Linked DNA regions of Homo sapiens: all the other regions are linked to region 1. The links are contacts of gene promoters, found by promoter capture Hi-C in human tissues and cell types (Jung and others, 2019). All regions are on one chromosome and are shown on one strand. The core of a region is centred on a gene start or on the middle of the fragment in contact, and the rest is flanking DNA. Distances in the headings are between cores, read along the strand shown.

Region 1 (4,114 bases), core at 1-2,500:
TGGAGCTGAGGACAAGTCTTCCCTGGGCCTGTTTCCTCATTTGTTAAAATAGGGATCAGAAAAGTACCGACCTTATAACTTCGCGAGGCACTTAAGAGCTAGGTGCTAGGGACATGGTGAGACCACCACAATGAGTGATTTCTCTTGTCTTCAGTTATTCTTAGGGGTCATGGGGAATGTGTTCCCCTCTCCCAGCCCAGCGCTCTCCAGCCTGACAGAGGTGGGGCCTACACTGCCTGCATCCTGGGGCAACCCCAGCTCGCCGAAATCCAGCTCCAGTCCTGAATGGGGGTGAGGCAGGTGGTAACAGGTGAGAAAAAAGGATTTCCCGAGTGTGGAGCAGCGAGAGGGAGGAAGTGACTCACCAACCACAACAAAGCCTATCTCTCCGCGAGGAAGCACAGCGAAGAGTGAACGCACGCACGTGGGTGCGTTCACCCACGTGCTCGCGGGGGCGTGCGGGGCCGTCGGAGTGGGCCGGGCTGGCTGCCGCCTAGTGCTAGTCCGCGCGTGTGGGGTGAGGAGTGGTGGGGGGGGCAGGCCTATGGTGCGGGTCACTGCCTGGAGCCGCATGATGGGTGGGGGCGGAGGGACCCCTCTCCATCCAAAGCTCTGCTCTGCTGTTCCCCTCTCACCTCTGGGGGCCGAGGGGCGCGTTTCCTTAGGACCCCGGGGCGTGGGAGAAGCCCCTGCTTGGGGGGACCGTCTGCTGTTTAGGGGCTCCCCTTCGACACGTGGGAGGCAAAAGTGCAGAGCGCACCATCATCCAGCTCCGGCCGCACTGCACAGCGAGGCCGGCCCGGAGCCCGGATGCTGGGCTCGGTCCCGCCGAGGCTCGGCCTGGCTGTAAAGCAGAGGGGGGCGAGGGAAGCCGGGCCAGCGGGTGTCGCGGGTAGCCGGCGTCCGGGACGGGGTGTGGCGCCCAGAGCGCTGCTGCCTCTCGCAGCCAGGAGGCTGGATGTCGGGTTTGGGTGTCTTCCAGAAGGAGCCGCACTAGCGACGAGGGAAGAGGAACTGGCTTCCCGGGCAGTCTCCCCCGCCCCAAACTTTTCCTCCTCGCGGAGGGTGGGCGGGCGGAGGGAGGAAGCGCAGCCGGGGAACGTGGCGCCCGCGTTCCTCCCGCCCGGGGGCTGCGGCTGGGCTGAGTGTGTCTTTAAATCTGAGCCCCCCGCCCCTCGCGGTGGGGCCGGGACTCGCGGTCCGGGCGGGGGCGGGCGCGGTGATTGGCGGCCGGGTCGGGTCCGCCCCTCGGCGTTGGGTAGCGGGGCGCTGGGGAGCAGCGCGGCGCGCACGGGCCGGGGCGCGCAGGTCCCGTCGCCGGTGAGCACGGGCTCCCTCTCGCGTGGCCTCGCCGGGTCCGCCTGGCCTGCCCACCTCCGGAGCCACCTCTGCCCCCGCATGGGCTGGCGAAGTTGGGAGGAGCGAGCTGGAGCCAGAGCGCGCGCCGGGCGCGCCCCGTCGCTGCCTGACTCGGCGCCCGCAGTTCGGGCGCAGCACGCCGGCCGCAGGAGCACGGATGCCCCCCGGAGCCGCGGGCTGGCAGGTACCGAAGTGTCCTGCCCTGGGGCTGGCGAGGGGAGGGCAAATCTGGAATCCCCCGGGCACCCCCCAGCCCGAGGCTGCTCCAGACACCAACTCCCCATCCTTTGGAGAGGTGAGGTCCTGGGCCTTCACCCCACACCCGCTCAGGATTGGTCCCTGGGAGGCAAGAGGGACTCACAGGGAGCAGTTGCTGGGTGGTTGTGTGTGTTGGACCCTGGGCTACCCCCTCTCCCGAGTTCCCTGGGTTTGGTGTAGGCATGGCCTGGTGACAATTCCACTTTTCATTGCCAGACCTGGGAGCATGGCCAGGAGCTAGGGTTTCCCGCGAAGTTAGGGGGAGATTGGGGAGAGGGAAGCCGCTTCATGACCGAGATGGGGTCCTGGGACTCATCTCTAGGGGGCGTGAGGCCCTCAGACCCAGGACGAGTCCAGAAGTCTCAGCGGGCACAGGCTTTGATTCTTGGCCCAGTCTGGCCCTCTTCCTCTGTAGGCCCGGGTCTCCAAGGAGAGTACGTTTTTCAGTTTCAGAGGGTTTTCCTGAAGGGGCAGTAACCTGTCAGAGAGAGAGTGGCCTATGGGAGACCCGGCTCCTGAAGGTGGCCGGGATGGTTGGAGCCCTTTCTCTTGGGTTGTCAGAGATGGGAGTAAAGCTTCATGGCCCAGGGAATCTTCTGGGCATCTCTACTCTCCCAGCCAGAGGCCCAGGAACCAACTCCTTGGCTTCTGGGTAGAGTAACCTGAACCCAGTGGCCGAGCACCTCTTAAATGCCAGGAAGGGCACTGGGCCGTGCCCCTGGAATGTGTGGATGGAGGAGGATTTGGAGGATTCTGTCCTCAGGAGGCTCAGCCCCTGGGGGCAAGACAGGACATAAACACACAAAGTTCCCCGATACAGGGTTTCAATACCAGTCCTGAACTGGTAATAGTGGAAAGCCAAGAGGCTACACACCATTAATTGCTATGTGAGTAATGTAGGCTGCGAGAGTGCCAGGGCAGCAGAGATCCAGTTCCATGCAAGCAAGCAAATGTGCTGAAATGTTCCAGCTCCATGCCCGCCCTTCCTTATTACCTTGCTCCAAGGGCAGGGAGCAGCAGGGGCGCTGAGGAGGTTCTCCTGCACTCATCCCCACCCACTCCCAGGTTTGTTTGTTTCCTGCTGGTGGATTTCTGAAATAACCCATTTGGTTTCTTGGCTTGGGCTGAGCACAGGACACTCCTAGTTGCCCTGTGGCTCCTGGGGTTTGGGGTCTAGAGCCAGCCTTGTAGGAGGTTCAGAGGTAAGCAGGAGGAAGTCCTCACTTCCTTTCTGAAGAGCCTCTGTCGCGGGGGGTTGGGGTAGGTCGGGAGGCTGGCAGGCACTGGGCCAGTTTCCTATGAGTGCAGACAGACCCCAGGTGGTGCATGCACCCCCCTCCCTTTCCTGGCCAGTGTTGGGGGTGGGCACAGTAGGGCCCAGGTGGCTTGAGGTGGGTGGTTCCTGGCACAGCTCTGACCTCACTTCTGTGAGGCTCTGCTGTATCTGGGGCCCTGCCCCCTCCCTCATTGTCCCTGGCAGGTTTCTGTTTTTCTGGAGCACTTCGTGGAGGTGGCAGTGTGCTCATGCTCGTGGCCTTGGGTGCAGTTCTGGGAGTGGGAGTTGCTGAGCTCACCCGAAGCCCTTGGCTGGCACTGTGAGAACTTGTGTGAACACACTTGCCTGCCTCCAAACAGGTGGTGCACAGACCTGGGTTACCCAGGCACCTGTGGGGGATGCCCCGTGTGGGCAGAGACGTGAGTGCGTGTGTGTGCTCAGGTTTACATCTGTGTGGGCAGAGACGTAGAGGAGCTGGATACATATATACTTGAGGACAGACACAGGAGGATGGTGGGGGTGAGCAAACAACCCAGGGACACAGACATGTGCGGGGACAGACATACATGAACCCATCAGCGTGGGCCACGTATGGGCTGCAGACACGTACATAGAAATACACCATTGCTGGGATCTGAATCTCCCCACATGGGAGGCAGACATGTAAGTGGACAGACATATAGGTAGACCCAGCAGAGCACAGACGGGGATGGGAACCGACATTCCCAGACAAAAGACTCGGAGCCACAGGGAAGCCGCTCAAGTGCCTGGGCAGAATGGAGTTGGCTGTGAGCTCCTGGGGGGCACAGACACATATGCTTGCCAGAGCCAGCGGACAGCAGAGGCCAGGAACCAGACACAGGTGGGTTCTGAGAGGTAGGCCGAGGCGTGCATTGCCTGGTTATCACTGTTTCCCTGCGTGGCACAGTGCCCGGAAGTTGTCCTGTTTGGGGTGGTGATGGTACAGGTGCTCTGTGGTGGAGCTTATTTCTAGACTCTCACTTTGGGGTTTGAGGACCCCAAAAAGCTCAGTCTCCTGTGTTTTACTCAGAGTCATTTGGCCTCTCCACCTCTGCATTACAAGGCTGTGTTTGTGCCTTAAGTGCCAGCAGGTGCTCTTTGAATTTTGATTCTCATCTTCCCTGGATCTCCAGAGGCTTCCTGAAGTGAGGCTGTGTGGCCTGGGTAGGGTGCTCCAACTGTTCCTTTCCTACCAGAATA
Region 2 (4,114 bases), core at 870-3,369, 310 kb after region 1:
TCCCCCAAGGCCACCTTTGTCTTCTACCCTGCCCTACCCCAAGCCCTCCTCAGTCAGCAGGGTGGGCATTTGGAGCCTCACCTCATCAGTGGATAATCAGCCAATTGAACATCTGTAGCCATTGTATGCTTTTTAACAGACTAAAGGCCAGTGCACTTAATACTAGCGTTGAGGATGCAGAACAGGAACTCTCACTTAATACTAGTGTTGAGGATGCAGAACAGGAACTCTCACGAACTGGTGGTGGAAGTGTAAACGGGAACAGGCACTTTAGGGGGAGAAATGGTAATATCTTTTAAAATTGAGCATTTGCATGCTGTATCACCCAGCAATTTCTTTCCCAGATATAAGAGAAATTCTTATAGATGTACAACAGGGGCTACTTATAAGAATATTCATACAAACACTGTTCAAAATAGCAAAAACCTGGTGGCAACCCAAATGTCTGATGGCAGAAGAATGGATAAATAAGCTGTGGTGCATTCAGACAATGGGATACTTTATTGCTATGAAAATAAATGAGCCACAGCTACATGTAACAACATGGATGAATCTTATAATCAGTATGAGAAAACTTAACAATTCTTGGTTTTGCGATGTTATATTTATGCAATCTTATTAACTCAATTTACTTTTTATTAATTACTATTAAATAGGCTGCAGTAGAACAAGATATATGCATTTGAAACAATACAATTGTTGTCATCCACTATATATAATGTGTGGATAATATAAAATAACTACTAAACAGTATAAATGTTGTTTAAAAACATATTATTTTTCTTTCATAAATGGTTTAGTTTATGTGTGTTCCAGAGGACCACAAGTTCCAGAGGACCACATAGCCTGAGATCCTTTCTAAAAATAAAAGTTTAAAAGCAAGCAAAATGATCATGAACATGCGATAAAACAGCAACAACAGCATCAAACAAGGAAATGCTAAGCACGAAATTCACATAGTGGCTATTTCCGAGGGAAGGCGGGGAGGGGAAGTGTGCAGGAGAAGCGCATATAAGGAGATGTGTTAGTGATGATGTTCTTGTTCTTGGTTTGGGTGGTGTATTTGCTTGTGTTTATTATATTATTAAATAAACTAATTAAATGGCATAGATGAAAGATGATAGGTGTCAAAACCAAGAATTATGATTAAATCTATGGACCTGAATATATATATCTAGCCAAAGTGCTAGGGATGGGGTTGGGACAGGACATCAGTGCATTCTGAGAATTAACCCTCAGAGTCACAGAATCTGCAAGGGACCCCAGAGATCTCCCAATGCCAGCCTTCATCAGGTAGTGGGATGGGTTGGAGTTGTCTGAGATCAGGGAAGCAGGGGAGATTTGCTGAGGTCACACAGAAGGAACCAGAGCCCGGGCAGTCTGACTCACAGTTTGCTGATCTTTTCTTTCCTTAAAAGGAAGCTCCAGACATCCTTGATGTCAGGTACTGGGCTCTAGAGTACTGAGATGCTACAATCTTGAGAACAGGATATGTGGAAGCCCCAAATCCTCCTGCCTATGGGAAAAAGTACTCTTTAGAACAGAGACTTGCAAATGTGTTTGGCTGTGATGACGGTAAGAAATTCTTTATGTCATGATCCAATTCACATATGGGTTTGTGTGTGTGTGTGAAACTAAAACAATAATATCCTGAAGCAATATTTATCCGTACTACATATGATGCACACTGATATTTTTACCCTATTTTTGGTTTTTATTTCTTAAATGTTAGATATGATCCATTTAAATTGATCTAATAAGCCACCAGGGGGTCATAACCCACAGCGGCTGTAGAGAGGCTGACAGGGACTCTAGTAGGCCAAGCCTGCCTTGTCCAGAGCGGGACAGGTGGGACCCCAGTGTAGTCTGCCCTGCCCTGCCCCTGCTCTCTGTCCCTGGGGCCCCAGCCAGCCAGGCAGAGGGGTCTGAGGGCTCCCATCAATCCAGCCACAAAACTTCCCTTTCTACCTCTGCCCTTCTGGGCTGTCCAGGGTCCATCTCCTCTCCCGAGAGGTCCCTGGACTCACCAAGGCAGTGCCCGCTACAGCATGTGTACGAGAAGCCCTGCTGTCCTAGCAGGAAGGAGCAAGAGGACAAATCGAGGGGAAGGCTGTGGGTTCTGTGGGCAAGTCTGCCTGCTTTGTGACACTGAGCCCAGTGGTTGCTAGGTTACCCTGTTCCCACAACTCCAGAACCTCTGCCCAGCACCCCTCTACCACATCCCCTGCCTATCTCCCCCTCCTGGAAGGGTAGACAAGGGCTAAGGACCTTCTGTCCCTCCTGACTTCCCTGCTGCCTCCCATCCAACACTTTCAATGGGGGCCAAGGGAGAGAAGGAGAGTCTGGGGCTGGTTTTAGCCAGAGAGAAGCGGATGGAGGCGGAACGCTGGCAGAGGACGTTGGTGGGCTGCGTCCCAGCTTCGTCAGCCCCACCTGGCCTGACCCCACCACACAGGGGTCGGCTTCCATGCATCTTGGTTCTGGGGACCCATTCTCAGGGAGGTGGGTCTTGGAAGGAGAGAAGATGGCAGCCCGCATTACCCAGAGGGACCCCAGCCCCTCTCTCTGCATGACAGCTGGGTGGGAAGATTCTGGGCTTGCATTTGGACAGGTGTTTTAATCAGATTTCAACATCCCATAGACACGTTACCTTGGGTAAGTCACCGGGACTGCCACAGATGCAAAATAGTGGGAAGAATCCTTGCTTCGAGTCCCTATTCTGCTACTTCCTAGTTGTGTGGCCTCAGACAATGCACCTGCCTTCTCTGAGCCTTAGTTCCCATATCTCTAAAATGGAGATGATGATACTGCACTTATTCTCACAGGATGTTTGAGAATATTAAGTGAGTTGATATATATTAAAGCGTTTCAAACAGTATCTGCCCCCAAGTATAATTTCTTACTATTATTGCCTTCTCTGGGTCTATAAAATGGGATATCCTCACCTACTTCTGTGGTTGTTCTGAAGACAAGCTAATGGAAGTGAAGCCTTTAGTTGTATGTCTGGCACACAAGAGATGCTCAAAAAGGATAATAATCATCATTATTATTGGTAACTTGATGGAGGTAGTAGGATGAGTCCTTTGTCTGAGAACTATCTTAGGTAGTTCACTATTTCTCTGAGGCTCAACTTGGACACCTGTCAAATGGGGGTAAGGATAGTTCTTAGCCGACAGGGCTGTAACTCAATCAGATCCCGGGAGGGGTGCAGACAGGCTCTGTAAACTATGGGAAGGCTTGCAGACAGTGCCGGGTGCTGTCCCTCAGAATGATGAGGTGGGCTTTTCCCAGGGCCTTTGCTCTCAGCACCCCTGGCTTCATACTGGTGCCCTGGGGCTTCCAGACTCTGTGTCTTTTCTCTGGGGAGCAAGAAAAGGAAGGTGGGTAGCTAGAGGCAAACCCAAGTCCTTCAAAAGTTCTGCCCCTCCCAGCTAAGGGGTGGGGATTCATACCACTCTGGTGGCCCCCTGAGGGCTGTCCTCTGGTCTTGGCCTACTCCAAATGCCCACCCATCCTTCGGCAGGTCAGGATGTTCCCTGGCTTTTTCTGGGCCTGTCTCTGCAGGAATACGGTGACTCTTTTGAAATCATACTGAAAACCCCCTCTTCCATACTTCTGGGCATCCTGGCAGCTGTGAAGATAGATGATATAGCATTTGGGAGAAGAGAGGCTTTCTTCCCCGTGACAAGCCACTCCTCCCTCCTGCTTTCAGCACTCTTGTGGCATTTCCCACCACGCGAGCTGACTCAGCTGAGATGAAAACCCACTCTCATCCTCCCCACTGGTGCCTTGTAATGCTTCAACTATGTTATTTACAATCGAGCATGGGGGTCTGCATAGGGACTGCAGCTGGGGGGATGAAGGGGTTCCTCAGGAAATGTCTTCAACACTGGTTTGTAAAAGAAGAACTGAGGAAACTCTTCTGACTCCTTTGTGGAGTGTCAAAAACTGTAGAGAGATCTGTCAGCCTGAGAGTGATTTGAGGTACAGTCCTTGGCCTGGATGACTCAGTCATAACAGAGGCAATAGAAACTTCATGGAACACTTTCTATGTGCCAGGCACTGTGCCAACCTCTTAGATATATTACCTCATGTAATCCTATAGATGGAGAAA
Region 3 (4,114 bases), core at 1,615-4,114, 260 kb before region 1:
TATTATCCAATTTTAGTTTTCCTTCACAGAATTTAAAATTATTCAAATACTTGGGTATTTATTACACAAAAAAAGTGATTACTGTTAAGAGTTTGTGATATAAAATATGTTATAAATATCCATAACAAAAAGGCAATGATGGTAGGTATCATCAGAAAGAAACTAACACCATGCAACTGAAATTCCAATGAGAGTATCTGTGGCTGGGGTGACTAAGGAGGGGTCAGTGAAGGGCTTACAGAGAGTAAGAGGAGAAAAAGTAATTCTAGGCTTTGGGAACATTGGAAGCAAAGATGTTGGGAAGAAAAGTTTGGGGCATATTTGTAAACAGTTGAGTTTAGCTGGAGCCCAAAGGGAAGACTAGTAGGCAATGGGAGATACAACTAGAAAATAGACTGGGACCAGACAGAGAAAAACCTTGACGTTCAGATGGTTCATCCTTGATCAAGTCAGTGTGACTAGATCAAAACCAATATCCTAAGTCTGACTCAAATGTAAGGTGAAATATTACCTCCATTTTTGCATTAGACCAGCGTGGTACTTCAACTACCATGTGAAACACATCCTGAAAAAACAAAGAGAAAGTGAGATGGTCACAGGAGCCAATTTGTTCTCTGAGGGAGCATGCACTATTTCTTCCAAAGTCAAACTGTTCATTGTATCAGATCTTTGAAGTCAATTGGATTTTCAACAAAATGCATCAAAAAAAGAGAATGATGGATGAAGAAATAATGCAATTATAGGAAAATATTCATTATAGAATCAAGGTGGTCAGTATATGATTGCTTACGGTATAGTTCTTCTTAATTTTTATTTACTTCTAAATTTTTTATAGAGGCAAGGTCTTACTGTGTTGCCCAGGCTGGTCTCAAACTCCTGGCCTCAAGTGATCCTCCTGCCTCCACCTCCCAAAGTGCTAGGATTACAGGTGTGAGCCATCTTGCCCAGCCAACTTACTATATAAATCTTTTAACTTTTCTGTATGCTTTAAGTGTTTCAGAATAAAAGCTGACAGTGGAAAGAATGTTCCTAGGAAGGAAACAGTTCTTAAATAAACGTAACAGAACCTGTATCTCTGAAGAAGACCATCTTCAAAACACTCTCCAAAGGCCAGTGTTATTTCCTTCAGAGACACTGCAATTACTCAAAATGTTTTTGGAGCTTCTATTTCAGAGACAGTTTATAAGACAAACCCCAAGTCAGACTAATTACTTGATCATACTTTAGTTTATAAGACGAACCCCACATCAGCCTAATTACTTGGTCATACTTTAGTTTTAGCATCAAACAAAACTCATCAGCTTCATTATCCACATTATTCTCCCAATTCGGCTGTTTTTAGAAATAAAGCCCCCCTGAAAAGGACTTTGACCTTGAAGATAAGAGAATATGCTTTAAAAATATTTTAATCAATGATAGTTCTACTGTAATTGGCTTATAGCCTTAAACTGACTACTATAAAATAGATGATATATTCAGGGAGTAAATTCCCAGATGTGCAGTTTAAAAACACAATGAAAAAACAAACCATACTTTGCCAACCCATTTTGCACACTGGAGTTAAATATGCCATAGGTTATTTAATTAAACTTGAGCTTTAATTATTCAGAATACTATTTTTTTTCACGGAATAGAACTTTAACTGCAGTTTTTCAGTTTTTAGCCTCTACAAAGGGCACAGATGAAGCTAAATCTGCAATTACTGTTTTCTGTCACCCAGGCTGGAGTGCAGTGGCACAATCTTGGCTCACTGCAACCTCTGCCTCCTGAGTTCAAGTGATTCTACTGTCTCAGCCTCCTGAGTAGCTGGGATAACACAGGGGCGTGCCACTACACCTGGCTAATTTTTGTATTTTTAGTAGAGATGGAGTTTCGCCATGTTGGCCAGGCTGGTCTCAAACTCCTGACCTCAGGTGATCCACCCGCCTCAGCCTCCCAAAGTGCTGGGATTACAGGTGTAAGCCACCGCACCTGGCCTGCAATTATGCTTATAAAAAGTACTTTTTTTTTTTTTTTTTGAGACAAGGTCTCACTCTGCCACCTAGGCTGGAGTGCAGTGGTATGAGCTTGACTCACTGAAGCCTCAACCACCCTGGCTCAAGCAATCTTCCCATCTCAGCCTCCTGAGTAGCTGGAGCTACAGATGCATGCCACCACATCCAGCTAATTGTGTGTGTGTGTATATGTATATATGTGTGTGTGTGTGCGTGTATGTGCATATATATATAATTTTTATATATATTATATAATTTTATATATATAAATTATATATGTATTATATATAATTTTTATGTATAATATATATATAATTATATATATAATATATATAATTATATATTATATATAATTTATATATATATTATATATAATTTATATATATATAATATATATAATTTATATATATATTATATATAATTTATATATATATAATATATATAATTTATATATATATAATATATATAATTTATATATATAATATATATAATTTATATATATATAATATATATAATTTATATATATATAATATATATAATTTATATATATATAATATATATAATTTTTATATATATTATATATATAATTTTTATATATATTATATATATAATTCTTATATATATAATATATACTTTATATATACTATATATATAATTTATATATAATATATATAATTTTTATATATACTATATATATAATTTATATATAATATATATAATTTTTATATATATACTATATATATAATTTATATATATAACATATATATAATTTATATATATAATATATATATAAATTATATATATATATAATTTATATATATATATATATATTTTTTTTTTTTTTTTTTTGTAGAGATGGAGCTTTGCCATGTTACCCCAGACTGGTAAAGTACATTTTAAGAACTTAACTTAAAATGAAAATCACTTGGTTACACCACTCTTTAGAATTACTTCTTTGCTACTTTCCATCAAAAAACGGGAACTGATAAGCCACAAGGGAATAAGTCAAAGGTTTCAAGTCAATAATTACCTGCTGCTACCAAGCAGAAAAACTACACTGATTTTGATTCAAAAGTGTAGAACTTCTGTCATTTTAAGTTCCTGCTGAAACCATGGGAGACTAAAGCATCCATAGGTTTCTGCTCCAAGCCTCCTGATACCTCACTTACCCAATACAACATAAAAACCAAAAGAATGGAGATATTACTTAAATCTAGGACTGAAGAAACTGCTCTATCCCTGTTTCCCTCTAAAATAACCAGATGGTTTAGAAAATGTAACACTAATTATTAATCCTGGGTAGAAAACCTCAGAACCAATCTTTGACTAAATTTCACCTTGTCCACTAGGTTTTCAAGTATTTTGTCCACTTCTCAGGTGTAAAAACGAGAGATCTGTAGGTCTGTGAAAAGAACAAGTCAGGGCTTTCGGTTTCCAGCAGCAGTACCCTAAAGATTCACAAGATGGAGCTGTTACGACATGAAAGATCAACTGAAGAGCTCGCCAAGATTAGCTGTTAATTTCGTTAAAACACCACCAAATGAATACATTGCTTCAAGAAAGATATAGCAGATAGAGCTAAAATAACTAATTCAAAGTTTAGAAACTATATTGAACACTTTAATAGCAGTAAATGACAAATATGTATAGATCCTCAAAACAGTATTACCTAATAACATAAATCTACATAATTAATGGGAAGGAAAAAAATAACAAGGAAGAAAACATCCTTCAGAAAATGGTAAGAGAATTCTGCTGCGAACAAAAGCTTGAAGGTCTGGTGCTTTTTAGAAATTAGCTGGGTGAGGCCGGGGGGTGGTGGCTCACACCTGTAATCATAGCACTTTGGGAGGCCGAGGTGGGCGGATTATGAGGTCAGGAGATCGAGACCATCCTGGCTAACACAGTGAAAAACCGTGTCTACTAAAAATACAAAAAAATTAGCTGGGCGTGGTGGCAGGTGCCTGTAGTCCCAGCTACTCGGGAGGCTGAGGCAGGAGAATGGCGTGAACCTGGGAGGCGGAGGTTGCAGTGAACTGAGATCACACCACTGCACTCCAGCCTGGGCCACAGAGCAAGACTCCGTCTCAAAAAAAAAAAAAAAAAAAAAAAAGAAATTA

Evidence for each region. The method cuts DNA at HindIII sites, captures the fragments that hold promoters and counts their contacts. A contact is called where the count stands out against the background at its distance.
Region 2: a contact is called between the fragment with the promoter of TBATA here and the fragment with the promoter of PALD1 in region 1, in 2 of the 25 tissues and cell types used here (adrenal gland and lymphoblastoid cells).
Region 3: a fragment that was not itself captured here is called in contact with the fragment with the promoter of PALD1 in region 1 in 1 of the 25 tissues and cell types used here (bladder).

What each region holds. Positions count from the first base shown.
Region 1 is chr10:70,477,517-70,481,630 of GRCh38, forward strand. PALD1 (phosphatase domain containing paladin 1) reads left to right here and starts at 1,251. Exons shown (of 20, transcript NM_014431.3): 1 at 1,251-1,543. RefSeq lists silencers at 867-936, 1,137-1,586 and enhancers at 2,581-3,223, 2,867-3,046, 3,224-3,865. The HindIII fragment of the contact is 10,532 bases long and covers 1-3,480 here.
Region 2 is chr10:70,783,258-70,787,371 of GRCh38, forward strand. It overlaps TBATA (thymus, brain and testes associated), which reads right to left and starts at 2,120. Exons shown (of 11, transcript NM_001318241.2): 1 at 2,028-2,120; 2 at 1,390-1,516; 3 at 82-268. The coding sequence starts at 122. The HindIII fragment of the contact is 18,774 bases long and covers 1-4,114 here.
Region 3 is chr10:70,218,253-70,222,366 of GRCh38, forward strand. It overlaps PPA1 (inorganic pyrophosphatase 1), which reads right to left. Exons shown (of 11, transcript NM_021129.4): 3 at 512-565. Among named protein-coding and RNA genes, the nearest start is that of PPA1, 13 kb to the right of the region's middle. RefSeq lists enhancers at 3,488-3,988, 3,989-4,114. The HindIII fragment of the contact is 5,424 bases long and covers 153-4,114 here.